Linked DNA regions of Homo sapiens: regions 2 and 3 are each linked to region 1. The links are contacts of gene promoters, found by promoter capture Hi-C in blood cells and fetal thymus (Javierre and others, 2016). All regions are on one chromosome and are shown on one strand. Each heading gives the region's core, a stretch centred on a gene start or on the middle of the fragment in contact. The rest is flanking DNA. Distances are from core to core; before and after follow the strand shown.

What was found. The method cuts DNA at HindIII sites, captures the fragments that hold promoters and counts their contacts. A CHiCAGO score of 5 or more calls a contact.
Region 2: a contact is called between the fragment with the promoter of PSMD1 here and the fragment with the promoter of SP100 in region 1, in 8 of 17 cell types (activated CD4 T cells, total CD4 T cells, non-activated CD4 T cells and 5 more). The highest score is 9.6, in activated CD4 T cells.
Region 3: a contact is called between the fragment with the promoter of SPATA3-AS1 here and the fragment with the promoter of SP100 in region 1, in 4 of 17 cell types (naive CD8 T cells, activated CD4 T cells, total CD8 T cells and 1 more). The highest score is 7.9, in naive CD8 T cells.

What each region holds. Positions count from the first base shown.
Region 1 is chr2:230,414,801-230,417,552 of GRCh38, forward strand. SP100 (SP100 nuclear antigen) reads left to right here and starts at 1,401. Exons shown (of 29, transcript NM_001080391.2): 1 at 1,401-1,528. The coding sequence starts at 1,497. RefSeq lists an enhancer at 1,048-1,567. The HindIII fragment of the contact is 2,432 bases long and covers 687-2,752 here.
Region 2 is chr2:231,055,464-231,058,215 of GRCh38, forward strand. PSMD1 (proteasome 26S subunit, non-ATPase 1) reads left to right here and starts at 1,404. Exons shown (of 25, transcript NM_002807.4): 1 at 1,404-1,578. The coding sequence starts at 1,563. LOC112268432 (a long non-coding RNA gene) reads right to left here and starts at 2,283. Exons shown (of 2, transcript XR_002959456.2): 1 at 1,874-2,283. RefSeq lists a silencer at 1,305-1,494. The HindIII fragment of the contact is 9,212 bases long and covers 1-2,752 here.
Region 3 is chr2:230,994,620-230,997,371 of GRCh38, forward strand. SPATA3-AS1 (SPATA3 antisense RNA 1) reads right to left here and starts at 1,413. Exons shown (of 6, transcript NR_033879.1): 1 at 1,229-1,413; 2 at 658-766. It overlaps SPATA3 (spermatogenesis associated 3), which reads left to right and starts at 1,502. Exons shown (of 5, transcript NM_139073.5): 1 at 1,502-1,915. The coding sequence starts at 1,615. RefSeq lists an enhancer at 1,013-1,546. The HindIII fragment of the contact is 18,304 bases long and covers 1-2,752 here.

The DNA of each region.
Region 1 (2,752 bases), core at 151-2,650:
GAAGAATGAGAGAAAGAGAGAGAGACCTACAGGTGAGAGAAAGAGAGAGAGACCTACAGGTGTGCAGTGCCTGATAGAAACAGTGACCTTCGCCCACCGGCAAAGCTGTCCTCACCAATGTCCTGGTGCCTGGTCATTCACTCATGGGGAAAAGAAGAGCAGAAGTAGAGTGAGGGTAGAAAGCCCCTTCCCCCACATTTTCAAATGTACCTGGACAAGCATCCTTATTCACAGCTGGAAGAAGTTGGATTCAGTAGAATGCCATTTGGAAAACACCGTTCTGAAGTGCCATCCCCTCTGGCCCCTGAATCCTCACCAGCTTCCACCCTCTGCTCACCTTGGGCCCTGGATTCCAGCGCCCCCAGGCTCCCAGCTGCCTCCCTGTCTCTGCCCCATGGTCCGGCCTGGAGTTCTGGTCCCTGGTTGTGTCCTGTGGCCCCATTCTCATGCGCCCTTTGCTTCTGTTTCTTTACCTATGACTTTATACTGATGTAAAGCGAGTCTTCTCGGTCGCTTCTTGTTCTCTGAGGAATGATGAATCAGAATCTAAATGGAAAATCTGGGCAGAGATAGAACCTCCCGCGGGAGCCACCCTGCCCTTCCATGTCTAGATCATCTGGGTTCCAACCTCCATCCTCCTCCAATGAGAAGCTTTTGTTCTCTCAAGATTCCAGTGACTTCTCCGAAGCTTAGGTGTCTCTTCACCCCTGGCTGTTCCAAGGCGGCCCCATAGTCAAGATTCCTTAAACCCTTGCCCCTTAAAATGTTTGCCTTTCTTACCATGCTGGCTCCAGCCTCTGGTCCCAGGGGTGTGGAGAGTTCTCTCTTACTTCTGGCTGATTTCCAGGAAGGCTAAGCACACTCTCCCCAGGTTATAATGCTGAGCATTTTGGTTCTCTCCAGCCCTGGGTCCCAATGTCAGGACCTACCTTAGTCCAGTCCATGCTCTCCCATGGGCCTGAGAGAAGATTTGAGGTTTCTGGCTTTCCCTCCAACCCTCCAACTCCCACCCCAAGCCATGTCAGCAAGGGGAAGGGGCAAACATGGAGTTTCCCCCCCAACTCCCATGTAAACTATGCCCCCTCTTAGAGGGCAGAGCAGCTAAGGACAATTTTGTTTCAAGGACATTTTTTTTGGCTGTGTATTGCACAAACAAGTGGACACCCGGGAGCTGGCCCTGCTCGTCCCCTGGGCCCTCCTTCCCTGGTCCTGCAGGTCTTGCTGCTTGTCAGGCCTCTCCTCCAACCCTCTGCCACATTTCAGAAAAGCTGAGAATCCCTTGGAGTGAAAAAGGAGGAGAAACACAGTGTCCGTAGCCCAGAAGGAGGTTAAATACTTTCACTTCTCTTTTCCCCATTTGGGCGGAGCCCTTTCTGAGTCAGTCTGTCGGCCGACTTCCTGCTTGGGGCCTGGGCAGCCACACTGCACGCAGGCTGGGCCGACTGAGGGGCTCAGAGGCCAGGCTCTGAGGCCCACGCAGGGCCTAGGGTGGGAAGATGGCAGGTGGGGGCGGCGACCTGAGCACCAGGTGAGTCTTTATCTCCCTTCCTTTAACCTTTATCTCTGGCTATATTGCAGCTTTCATGCCTTTAGTTCAGTTTGTGCCTAAGGCTTCACTTTAATCCTTCTTTGCAAGAACATAGGTATGCGATGTTATATAATGAAATGAAAGACAAGTAATGAGGAAATCAGATTTTTTAAACAGGAGCAGGACAGCTGTTGGTGTGAGTTCAACTTGCCATAACACACGTGACTTTCTTGTTTTGGATTTACTGCTCAGCTGACCGGGACACTCTAAACATAGCAGTTGTTGGTGGCTGGGATTAACTATTTCCTCATGATCTGTGAACCCTTTCACCCCTCAGCCTTCCTCTACCTTCAAATATGTCATGTCAAAAAAGGTGCTTTAGAAAATAAACACTCCAGGGTAAACACCTGGCTTACTTTTAAACATCAGACGCTGTGGTCTCACCTGTCCTGGCAAGGGGCCTCTGCCGGCTGTTCCCATGACTGGCTCAGGGTCTGAGTTCTTATTCCATCAACCTTGATCAAAAGAAGGAAAGGGAAGAAAAAGGCCCAGGGTGACAAACGGCTAAATATTTTCATTTTTACCTCAATTTCCTGTCCCAAGATGGGGGATACCTCTGACCAGAAAAGAGAAGGAAATCCTAACTTTTCTCTAGTAGTGAGTTGAGAAATAACATTACTTAATCTTTTAAATTTTTTAATACAAAAGAAATACACTGTACATTATTGTTCATAAAATTTAAAACAGTGGAGAAGTATATTAAGGAAAAAGTCATCTTTGCCACTCAGCCATTCTTGTAGCTTCTCTTCCCAGTCCTGTGAAGAGTCTTGGGCACAGCTTTTCTTATATTTTTCTATGCATTTATATATCTAATGCATTTTTTGTAAATACGTAATTTATGTTCTTGATTTATAATAAATTATATTACATGTGCTAGTCTGCATTTTGCATTTTTACTTATTTTAATAGTGGAAAACTTAGAGATCTTTTAACCTTAATACATATAGATCTGCCTCATTCTTTTTATACATGCTATTCCATAGAATTGATATATGATAATTATTTATTCTCCAATTGAAGGACATTTAGATTGTTTTTAAATTGTTCACATTTACCAATAAGCTATCATAACAATGATTATATATTTCTTTTTGGGTTTTTACATCTAAACAAATATTTATCTTGTCTCTAAACCTTAAAAATGTAATTATTGAGGCAAAGGGT
Region 2 (2,752 bases), core at 154-2,653, 640 kb after region 1:
AGGCGGGCGGATCATGAGGTCAGGAGATCGAGACCATCCTAGCTAACATGGTGAAACCCTGTCTCTACTAAAAATACAAAAATTAGCCGGGTGTGGTGGCATACACCTGTAGTCCCAGCTACTTGGGAGACTGAGCAGGAGAATCGCTTGAACCCAGGAGGCGGAGGTTGCAGTGAGCCGAGATCGCGCCATTGCCCTACAGCCTGGGTGGCAGAGGGACACTCCATCTCAAAAAAAAAAAAAAAGAAGTACCTCTGTAGAATGACACCCCAAGTAATCTGTTTACTTTGCATGCACATCTTCTCGAGCCCTGCCTTTCAATCTGAGCCACAGGCTCTTCAAAAATGTTCAATAATTATATTTAATATATTTTAAACAACCACAGTTTAAGAATTCTAATTTAAACAAAAAAAGTCACAGATACAACAAAATGTGTTATCAAGCACATTTAATTCACTGGCAACCACAAGACATTGATTGTGCCCCTAGGTTACGTAGAAGGCCGTAGAAATGAACTCGCCATCGCTGTGCGATTGAAGAGTTTAGCTTGATAGTGCAAGGCCGGTGGCTGAAAAAAATGCTACCGTTTGCCCTATTCCTTGTCAAGACTTTCTCAGTACTGACTCTTGAAATAAATTGACTTCTTGAAGCTAGCATAAGACTGCAAATGGCCATTGCAACTGCCATTTCAAATTTCTGAAGATGTATTAGAAACGAAGAACCCACTGCCGTCGGGGGAAAGAGGACCTGGGCAGATAGAAGGAAAGAATGGAAGACATTTTTTCTCCCTTGGAAAGGCTTTCGCCATATAACTACTGCACATTTTAATATATTGACAACACTGGACATTTTTCCAAAAGTAAGTAAAAACCTTCATTGTTCAACTTTATAATAAGCCAATGATTACTTGTGGATTCATTATGATAATAAAGCACTTCTATGGGGATTTTCTTTTTTTTATGATAGGTTTTGCTTTAGAAAACAATTGAAAGCCACTTTTCTGGGAAAAAAAACAAAAAACAAAAAAAAACGCTGTTTGCGGCAGCCCCAATTCCCTAAGCATTATCTGGTGGGAGATGTGTTGCAGCGAGACCTCCCACCAGTAGGTGGCACTGCGCGCAATGCTCGCACCTCCCCTCAACACCCTTTCTCTCAGCAATGGCGGGTGATGGTGGGGGTCCTCTCTTTGCAGGGCTGGCCATTCTAATGCCTGACCTCAGGTGCAGACCAGTGTTCCGTTGCGCGGGACTCCTGACCTCGAGGAGGTTTAGAGAAAACAATGGTGTTCTCTGTGTACCCTTCCGCGAGGGCTGGGGAGTATACCGCCGCGCAGAAGACGCAGGCCAGGGGAGAATTCGCGCCGGGCGGCAGGCGGGGTGGCGGGCAGCCCCTGGGCGGGCGGGGTCCTGGCGAGAAGCGAGCCGGCGGCCTGAGGAGGCGACTGACTGAGCAGCGCACCCGGGGAGCAAGGAGGCGCGGTGAACTGAGCGGCCCCTGAGCTGACAGATACACTGCGCAGCTGGAACGGCGAGCGAGCCGACGGGCGAGTGAGGGGCGCAGCCATGATCACCTCGGCCGGTGAGTGCGGCCCGTAGCCAGCGCCTGGAGGGAGGAGCCGCCGCCGCGCCGGCTTTTAGCTGAGTCAGGGCCGGTGACTGGGCGCCTCCCGGCGGAACGCCGGCCTGGGCAGCTTCTTGCTGCCCAGGGCCCACCCCCGGGCCGGGGGGCTGGGAGTCTGATCAGGTCACTGCGTGCTTCTCTGGCTTGAGGGAATCGAGCCGGGTCGACCGCCTCGGCATCCCTCCCCAATCACACCCCAGCGCCAGGACCCGAGGGGCTTCCTGGGCCTTCCCCTGACCCCAGAAGGGCTTACCTTTTTTCTGTGCCTCCCATTCTTGGCCGTGTGAGGTCGTCCAGCCCCAGTTCTTGCCCGCAGGGGGCCGGGGTGGGATGGGCCCCTGTGCCATTGAACAGTAAGGCAAACCCCCCTGATCGGGCAGCCTAACTGCTACAGAAGTGTTTCTGGACGTGGCCGAGCTCCATTCGCCTTAGAATGAAACCCGAAATTAGGTTTGAGGTGGGTCATTTCTGGGTCCGATCCAAGGGTGTTCATTCAAAACACCCAGAGAACTTTTGGGTTCGGCGAAGACCCTAAAGACGCCCTGGAGATACCTTTATACTGAGAGCCTACTTATACCCTTTCGAGGTTATGTGCTCAGTCTGTTGACTGTACATTCAAGAAAGAATGGATGGATCTGCGGAGCAGGTTTCATACGCGCAAACCATTGCATAGGTAGATTCACGTAGTGACATTTGCAATGGAGTAAGTTACAGAGATCAAGTTTCAATTGGAGACTTAAGCTCCCCGTTACAGATTGACTTGCATATAGCTGTCCAGAGCCTTGGTGCTTTTTTCCGTTGCCTATTTACATACCCTTTTCTCATTTTCTTACTCTGTGTTTGACCCACAAAGAAAGCATTTTATTGTAAACAAACTGGTGAGCAGAAGACAGTAATCTGAATGGTAAGGCGATCAAAACTTTATTTTTATGAGGATTGGTTAAGGAGATCGTTGGAGATACTGGGAGACGTAGTTACTTTCAAACATTTGAAGAGCTGTCACTTGTACCTGAAATAAGACTTTTTGTCCCCAAGAGATACAAGTGATCGCGAGATGAATTTTAGTTCAGTATCAGGAAGTTTTTCCAGTCAGAGCTTTGTAAAGATCAAATAAACACTCAGTTTCTTGCCA
Region 3 (2,752 bases), core at 163-2,662, 580 kb after region 1:
AGGCGTGAGCCACCGCACCAGGCCACTGGGGGACTTTTTAATTCATTATTTCAAAGCCTGTATAATTATCTGACTCCCTATTGTTTTCTGGGATCATGAAAATAATGAGCCCCAAACTGGAATTTAGTCCTTCCGATGCCCCCAGCCAGCTGTGTGACCCTGGGAAAGTAACTTAATTTCGCTAAACCTCAGTGTTCTGAGGAAAGGTCATCATTAAGGTATTTTTAGGCTCTAGAAGCCCTAAACTATGTCCTGTCATTTCAGAGTTCATGTTGGGTCTGGCTTTGTGTGGCCCAAAGCCCCCCATTTTTTTTTAAGACAGAGTCTCGCTCTGTCGCCCAGGCTGGAGTGCAGTGGCACGATCTCGGCTCACTGAAAGCTCCACCTCCAAGGTTCACGCCATTCTCCTGCCGAGTAGCTGGGACTACAGGCACCCACCACCACGCCCGGCTAATTTTTTGTATTTTTAGTAGAGACGGGGTTTCACCATGTCAGCCAGGATGGTCTCAATCTCCTGACCTCGTGATCTGCCCGCCTCAGCCTCCCAAAGTGCTGGGATTACAGGCGTGACCGAAGCCCTTTTTATCTGCATAGGTCTGCTCTAAACCTTCCGCTGGGGCAGGAGCTCCTGCGCTTGCCAGTCCCACACTCACCCACCTGTGACACACTGGCGATGAAAGCAGTCTCCTCAGGTGAACACATTTTATGTTGCAGTCACAGTATGAGCTTCAGATTGTCTTTTAAAAATACTTTTCCTTCTTCCATCCTAAAACAAAAATCACATTTAATGAGCACATTAAATTAATTAATCTAGAGAAAGATTCAGTCACCTGTTTAACCCAACCAATTGGGGTTTGGGAGATAGTCTGTGGTTGCCATTGCCATGAGTTTGAGACAAATGTTAGTTTTCTGAACAGCTGTTATGTTCTCAGGGAAAATTATCTGCCAAATGCAAAGGTTCTTATAAAAGTCAAGTCAACCCCCAAACTCCCCTCCCACAGTGCGGGAGGGCAGGCTTTGGGGGAAGGGGTAAGCTACTCTGAGATGGTAGCAGGCTCTGGGCCATGGTAAAGCCTTCGAAGAAGCTCCAAATCTTCAGGAAGCTGACCTGAAGATGAATGCGTGGGGAACATGGATTTTTGAGGTGTAGGAGTAGGGGGTATGTGGAAGCCAGTGACAGAGCTGAGCGTCACATCCAGGGTATCTTAGAGCAAAACAGGTAGCTCACATGGACCCAGGAACACGCCAGCAGAGAGGTGTCTGAAGGCAGCGCTCAGGTCGCAGAAGCATGAGGATCTGGCTGTCACCAGCCCCGTAGCCAGGGCTGTGAGGACCAGGGCAGCCGCTGTCCCCTGCCTAGCCTGGCAGCCTGGGATGAAGGAGGACACCAGGCTGGTGTCTGCAGAGAAGACTGTCCCTTGAAGCCCTGCCATAGGAGCCACCCTGGCTTTTATGACCTCACAGGAGGTGTGGGTCACTGTTCTCTGTGGGGCCTGGGTCCAGCTGGAGGCCCAAGCCAGGCTCCTAGGGCAGAGGGCAAACGGCCCCTCCAGGAGGGAGCCGGGAGATTACGCAGCTCCATGTAGGTCCACGTTTAGGTTGGGAGGATCTACCATGAAGAAGGTCAAGAAGAAAAGGTCAGAGGCCAGACGCCACCGAGACTCCACCTCCCAGCATGCTAGCTCCAATTCCACCTCTCAGCAGCCTAGCCCTGAATCCACACCACAGCAGCCTAGTCCTGAATCCACACCACAGCAGCCTAGCCCTGAATCCACACCACAGCATTCCAGCCTTGAAACCACCTCCCGGCAGCCAGCATTCCAAGCCCTTCCAGCACCCGAAATCCGCCGCTCCTCTTGCTGCCTTTTATCTCCAGATGCTAACGTGAAGGCAGCCCCTCAATCCAGGAAAGCAGGTGGGCTGTCTTCTAGCTTCAGCAGTTCCAGCCTTCCTGCTGATGGAGTTCTGGGTCATCCCAAAGGCTGGTTCTTGTAGGATAGTGATGCATGGTTAACGTGTATCCTGGAGCTGTGCTGTAGAGTGGGAAGGTTTTTGTTTTTGTTTCTACCCAAGAGACCAGGATTCCTGGGTTTTGTCATTTCTCATCATCCTGAGTCTCACTGAAGACAGCCACACATACATATAAACATTTAACTTGGTTCCATAGTAATACTTGCTCACTAGGAATCAGCAGTGCCATGCAACTGCTAAAAAATAAAAACCAAGGATGCATTTATAGAAGTATATGGTTTAGAATAAGGGAGGTGATGATACTGCTTTATTCTGTCCTCATCAAGCTATCCTTTTGGGCTGTAAAAGATGCCTGACAAACTAGTCCAAGGAAGATAGTCTGGGTTGATGGAGGATGAGAAGGATCAGGGAGACCATTTAGTGTATGACAGTCAATTGAAGGAATTGGAGGATGTCTGTCTGTCAAGTGGAAGATGTGAATAGACTTGTTCCTTATTGTCCTCAGAGATCTAAGGGTCTGATGTGGTTTGGCTGTGTCCCCACCCAAATCTCTTCTTGAATTCCCAGGTGTTGTAGGAAGGACCCAGTGGGAAGTGATTGAATCACGGGGGAGGGTCTTTTCCGTGGTGTTCTCGTGATAGTGAATAAGTTTCATGAGATCTAATGGTTTTAAAAAAGGGAGTTTCCCTGCACAAACTCTCTTCTCTTGTCTGCCGCCATGTGAGATGTGCCTTTCACCTTCCACCATGATTGTGAGGCCTCCCCAGCCACGTGGAACTGT